Linked DNA regions of Homo sapiens: region 2 is linked to region 1. Evidence: promoter capture Hi-C in human tissues and cell types (Jung and others, 2019). All regions are on one chromosome and are shown on one strand. The core of a region is centred on a gene start or on the middle of the fragment in contact, and the rest is flanking DNA. Distances in the headings are between cores, read along the strand shown. Region 1 holds the start of VPS35 (VPS35 retromer complex component). Region 2 has its middle 75 kb from the start of DNAJA2-DT.

Region 1 (3,181 bases), core at 258-2,757:
CGTGACACTGAAGGCACACAAGATGTTTGATGAATTGAAGTGGATTCTGGAATTTTAGGGCTGGGAAGGGCCAAAGGGGCCGCCAACACTTGCTTTCGGATGCAAAAGTGCGACACCAAGAAGACTAAGCGAGCTGCCTAAATTATAGACAGTGACTGTGAAAGAACGAATACTCAAGTTTCCTTTCCCAATAAAATTCATGAGGACAAGACTGTGTGTCTGGCTGATTGCTCCCAACTGGTTCACCCAACAAAGAATCGGAGTGTGTAATACATCCTCAATTAAGTGTTTTCCATTACAAAACAATATAAATGTCAATCCATAAACGCTGGAAACACACAAATCCTAAAGTTAAATTTTGCGCCGGTCTTGTATCAATTCCCAATTATAAAAATCCTGAGAAACAGGCAAAATCACCTTGTACGGCAACACGTTATATGAAAATAGTATTTGTAAAACACTTAATCCTTTCTGGCATTAAGACATTTAAAGTGAAATCTGTTTCCAGGCTTACAGATTTACAGAAGCCTATCTACACAGAGTGAGTAAGGTAATTAAAGCGGACATACAGTATATACTCAAAAAATTTATTTACACAGTGCAGGCTATGTTAAACGCTAATAAAATGCAAGTGACAACTTGCCTTTGTGGGAACCAGACACAAAGATTCACATTTTGAGGAAGTTCAAGTTTACCGGCCAACAGCCACACCACGATTTGCTGCCGTCATAGACGGGCCCTAAGGAGAAGTACTGCTTCCAGCAAGTCAAATACTTGGATTTTATCAATGGCGAGACAAAAGAGGCAAGGTGCGCCCAATGCACAAATGCTAAAGTAAACAATCAGTCTCCTTTGCGACCGTCAGGATTAGAAGACAGCCTGAGTCCTTCCAGGAAATTCATGTAAGCAGGTCCCCAGAACTCGCTGACAAACACTGCAGCCGAAGGCGGGTATGAGGCCAAGAAAGGCCAAGGAATCACTGCGACCCCTCCAGGAGGGCGTGGGGACGGCCGAGCACAACTAGGCACAAAGGTAGAAACGCAACATCTGGGCGGGTCCCGGCGCCACCTCCGAGTCTCAGGGCCTCCACGCGCCCCGGGGGCCAGACGCTCAGACCTAGGACTACCGGTCCCCTCGTGGTAGGCAGGTGACCGATTCCACTTAAAGGAGGCCGCAGGCCTTCATGGACCCCAAAGCCTACATGCCAAGTCAACCCCACAGAGAGGCCGCCCCGTCTCTCAGCAACGGCCGCAGCCAAGAGCCGCCGCCCACCCCGGCCCGGATCAGCCTGCCCGCGGCCTTCCTCCTGCTGTCCCCTATCCCGCAGGCCAAATCGGGCTGGTCTTAATCCCGAACGGTCTGTGGGGCCCCTTCTCCACTCGCTGGAGTGCGGGGCGGTGGGAGAGAGCAGGGGCTACAAGGAGGGTCGACCCAGGTGCCACTGCCCCCTCAGCACTCACCATGGCGACTCCCCAGAGCCTGCAGCAAGCAGCACCCGCCCCGCGCGTAGCCTCCCGCGGTCATGTGACGCTGCGGCCCCTCCAAGCCCCGCCCTCTCTAGCCCCGCCCCCGGGCCCTACAGGCGGCTCATTGATTGGCCTACTTCTAGGAACCCGAGTCTCGCGTGCTTATTGGCCCTGTCACTTAACGCTAGATGGACGGACCTGAGCGCCAGCCAATCTCACCACAGCGTGCGAGAGTGGGCGGAGCAGTGCAGGGCAGTGGGGATCGCCCGGCGGCAGGCAGGAGACAACAGGAGGGAAAGGCAGTGTGTGATGAGTTTGTCAAGAAGGAATGGAAGGAGGGGGAGCCGACAAGTCCACGTTCACCGCATCTGCGTTGGCGATTGCGCTATTGATGCGCATGCGCAAAAGGAAGACCCTGATTGGTTTGTGGGACGGTCTCAACGTCCTGTCCTAACCAATCCAGATGCGCCGGGGGTGGGGCCTGGCTCTCACTGGCCGGTGCAGCCTTTGCGCGCGGGTTTCGTTGACCCGCGGCGTTCACGGGAATTGTTCGCTTTAGTGCCGGCGCCATGGGGTCGGAGCTGATCGGGCGCCTAGCCCCGCGCCTGGGCCTCGCCGAGCCCGACATGCTGAGGTGAGTTCGGCCGCGCAAGACCAGGGCTGGGCTTCCGCCTCGCGGCCCTGGGCCCTCAGGTGAGGCCCGCGCCCTTCCCAGGCGACGGGCGGCGGGGGAGTGACGGGGAGCGCTGGGGCCGGGCGGGGTTTAGGGCCTACTTCAAGAAAAACTTCTCGGCCGTGAGCTTGAATGAGATGGCAAGAAGGGCGATAGCAAACGGCGATGGCACACGTCCCTGGGAACAGCCAGCCCTGTCCGTGGGTAGAAAAATGAGCCAGGGAGAACTTTCCGTTCATTCCGCCAACGCCTACTGCAGTCGGGTTTATAGCGGGGAACCCGACAACGAGGCGCAGACCCCGCTGTCTGTAAGGGCGAGGACTGTGTAGACCTTAACCGGGCAATGCTCCTGAGCCACTGGGCTTGGGGTGGAGCGCGGCCTAGCGGCTGCCTTTAACACAAAGAAACAAACAAAACTCGGAAAAGCAGGCGCCGTTCCCGCTGAGGCCGGATTGATGGCAGATGCTAGGCGAGGAAAGATATGGCAAGAGCAGCCCAGGCAGGGGCGACAGCTCCTGTAAAAGCGTTGAGATGGGAAGCGGGATCCGGGGTTCGAAATAAAGCCATTGTAGCTAAAACGTGGAGCAGTCAGGCGAGGGAAGGCAAGGAAAACAGCACTTAAAAGATTTGAAGACAAACCTGCAGGACTCGGTAGTCATTTAGAACAGTGGTTCTCAAAATGTGGTTCCTGGACCAGCAACAGCCATATCATCTTGTCACTTGTTAGAAATACAAATTCTTGGGTCCCACCTCAAGCCTGCTGATCAGTAACTCGGCCTGGGACCCAGTAATTTGCAAGTCCCCAAGGTGATTTTCGCCTACCATCAAGTTTAAGAACTACTGATTTAAAGGAAATAGGAGGAAAGGAGGAACCCTGGTCTAACCTGCCTGTCTCTGATAGTTCGTGCTTGTTCCAGTAATGGAAGGAGGAAAGAAGGGTAATTTTTTTGTCAAAATTTAACTTCCTTTTGCCTGAAAGCATTTGAGCACAGTGATGTTTGGAGTCAGTGCTGGTTCTGTCTTCCTCTCACCAGAGGATATG
Region 2 (2,919 bases), core at 312-2,811, 360 kb after region 1:
CTTTTTCTTCCTTCTGAGACAAGCTATTTGAGTCTATTCAAACTGAAAAAAACAAAAACCACTTTGAATGACCAAATAATCTATTCAGCCATCTTGATGCCTCTCCCAGCTGGGAATTCACATTTTAGGCAGCCTTTGTCCCAGGGGTGGGTGAAGGCAGGTGAGTTCTGAGTGTGGAGGTGGAACAGTGAATACCCAGGCCCCTTTCCACCCCTCTCTCCAAGAAGTGTACCTGCAAACTCCTCAGCACCAGCCGCCACCATGGGAGAAATTCATTAGCAGATCTGGTTTTGCATAATTTAGTAGCTAGCATTCACAAATTAAGTCTGCTGGCTCCCCTCGTGGTAATGGCCTTTAGAGAGATGTGAGAAAACACAGGCTTGTAATCCCAGCAGTTTTCTGGAGCTGATAATTAATAACAACAATAAACTGCTAATAAGACACATCAGTTTTTCCTTCCACTCATGTCTTCTTGCTTGTTCCTCACCACTGCAGAAGAGGAAAGCAGATCTGATGTCCTCCATCTGATAGGCAAGGGAACTGAGATCTGGGGAGGTGTTCCCAGCTGGGGAGGAGGCTGTTCTGGAATCTGCCTCTTCAGCCGGCCTGGGGAGGGTCCTGGTGCCCTCTGAGCTCAGGGCCATGGCCCACTCAGGAGGCCACTGGGGGACCATGGGAGAAGCAGGGCTCGGGAGCACTAAGCCTCTACCCACAGTCTGCATAGCAGGAACCTCAGTCCTTGCTGGAGTCCTTGGCAGAGCAAGTCCTTCGATTAGCAACACCATCAACAGCTGCAATAATCCAAAGCTAATCTTTGTCAAGTCCTTTCAGCCACCAAACACTCTTTCTGCATGCACCATCTCATCAATAACACACAGTTGCCCATGAAGAAGGTACCTATCACCTTTTTGCTTTGTTTTGTTTTGTTTTGAGACAGTGTCTTGCTCTGTCACCCAGGCTGGAGCGCAGTGCTGCAATCAAGGCTCACTGCAGCCTCAAACTCCTGGGTTCAAGCGATTCTTGCACCGCAACCTCCTGAGTAGCTGGGACTACAAGCGGCACCACATGCCCAACTAATTATTTTTTGTATTTTTGTGGAGATGGAATCTCACTATGTTGCCAGGCTTGTCTCAAACTCTTGGCCTCAAGCAATCCTCCTTCCTCTGCTCCCCAGAGCACTGGGATTATAGTCGTGAGCCACTGAGCTGGCCAAATATCACTTCAATTCACTGGTGAGGAAATGAAGGCTCAGAGAGGCTCCAACAGACCCCAGTTGGAGTGGCTTCCTGGTCCCCAGAGCGTCTCCTTCTCTGGGATCGATCTGGATGCAGGTAAGCCTGGCGGGTCTGCTTCTGACATATGGCCTTGTCCCCTTGCCAAAGCTGATTGGGCCAGGAATGGGCTACTGGTCTCTGTTTGGCCAACCACAGCCTCTGTCTGGGATGCGTTAGGCTGGTGCTAAGGCAAGGGAGGCAATATCCCTCTGGCGATGGCTGGAGCCATGGCAGCCCTGCTCTTCCCCTGCACAGGAGGCCAGGCAGCAGCAGGAAGGCAGCTTCAGAGATGGGGAGCGCAGGGACAGGCAGCATCCTGTGGTGTTTGAGTCCTTTATTCCAGTTGTCCCTGAGGCACCCCAGTGGTGACCAGCCCCGGTATCCTCTGAATAAGCCCCCTTTACTTGAGTTGGTTGGATTCAGGTCTCTGTCTCTTGAAACCATGAGTTGTAACCTAGGACCTTGGCTGGGGTCCCTGGGAAGCATGACGTGGCAGGGACTGGAGTCTTGTCCCCTCTCCACCAAGGCTTCCAGGGCCTCCCGGGACTCTCCTCCTTGTGGGTCTCTGCAGGGATTGCGGCAGCCAGGGAAGGCCCCTGGTTCTCAATGCCCGCTGCAGAGGAGCCCCAGTGAAGGGCAAATAGTACTGAGACTACACCCTCTCTGAACCCCCAAATCACAGCACCAGTGTGGCACAGGGCTTATTCATGCCACCCCTGTGTTCTGGGCAGGACTGCCCGAGCCAGCCATGTGGGGCCTTGATTTTTTGAGGGAGAGGAGTCCATGGTCACCTTGTGGTTGGCGGGGTTCGAGAGGCAAAGGTGTCCATGAAGTGGCCCCTGGCCTTTGCCCTGGGCAGGACTTGGAATCCCTGGAGGCTCTCACTCCAGGAATCAGGGTGGAGACATCCCCTGCCTTCTCCCCACTCACCCTGAGGGCCTCCCTAAGTGATCAGGAATCCAAAGTGTGCTTTCCATGATTTGTGTCTCCTCTCCATCCCCCAAATCCCTTGCAGAAAGGTTACAGGCTCCCACTGCGCCAAAGAATCCCCCAGCCCAGTGCATGGGCAGCTGCGCATGCAGGGCTATGGTTGGAGACCACGGCTCTGCCCACTGCTAGCCTTAGGACCTTTAGGCGCGTTCTTCAACCTCTGCATGTTTGAGGCTTCTAAATCCATCACAAAAAAAGACGACAGTAATAGCGAGTAACTGCCTTATGGAATGATTGTTAGGACTCAAAGACATATTACAAGTCAATTGCAGCACTCAGTGAGCTCAGTAAATGCTGGTTAGAGGCAGCAGGCCAACAGAGGGAAAGGGATTCGCCCAAGGTCCCACTGTAAGTCAGGACTCAGCTGGGACCAGAAGCCAGACCTCCTGGCCACTGGTTGATCTCCTCTAAAGACCCAGAAAGCACCGCACTCTCTCCCCCACGCCCACCCCAGCACCCACTCGAGCTGCCAAAGACTCGCAGAGGCATGTGGGATGCCCAGAACCAGGGCTTTATGTTTGGCAGCTGCCTTAGGAAGGGAATGCGCTGGGGAAGGGGCAATGGGTTTCTGTGGATTGGAATTTATAAAGTGACAGTTGGTTCTGGTGATTCAGGCAGTGATTTGTGATTTATTGACACATCAGAAAAAGCTGTC

Evidence for each region. The method cuts DNA at HindIII sites, captures the fragments that hold promoters and counts their contacts. A contact is called where the count stands out against the background at its distance.
Region 2: a contact is called between a fragment that was not itself captured here and the fragment with the promoter of VPS35 in region 1, in 1 of the 25 tissues and cell types used here (lymphoblastoid cells).

Annotation. Positions count from the first base shown.
Region 1 is chr16:46,687,671-46,690,851 of GRCh38, forward strand. VPS35 (VPS35 retromer complex component) reads right to left here and starts at 1,508. Exons shown (of 17, transcript NM_018206.6): 1 at 1,461-1,508. The coding sequence starts at 1,463. It overlaps ORC6 (origin recognition complex subunit 6), which reads left to right and starts at 1,989. Exons shown (of 7, transcript NM_014321.4): 1 at 1,989-2,100. The coding sequence starts at 2,036. RefSeq lists enhancers at 979-1,676, 1,677-2,375, 2,613-2,692, 2,743-2,812 and silencers at 1,213-1,262, 1,413-1,652, 1,973-2,272. The HindIII fragment of the contact is 11,418 bases long and covers 1-3,181 here.
Region 2 is chr16:47,047,338-47,050,256 of GRCh38, forward strand. No RefSeq gene overlaps it. Among named protein-coding and RNA genes, the nearest start is that of DNAJA2-DT, 75 kb to the left of the region's middle. The HindIII fragment of the contact is 9,133 bases long and covers 1-2,919 here.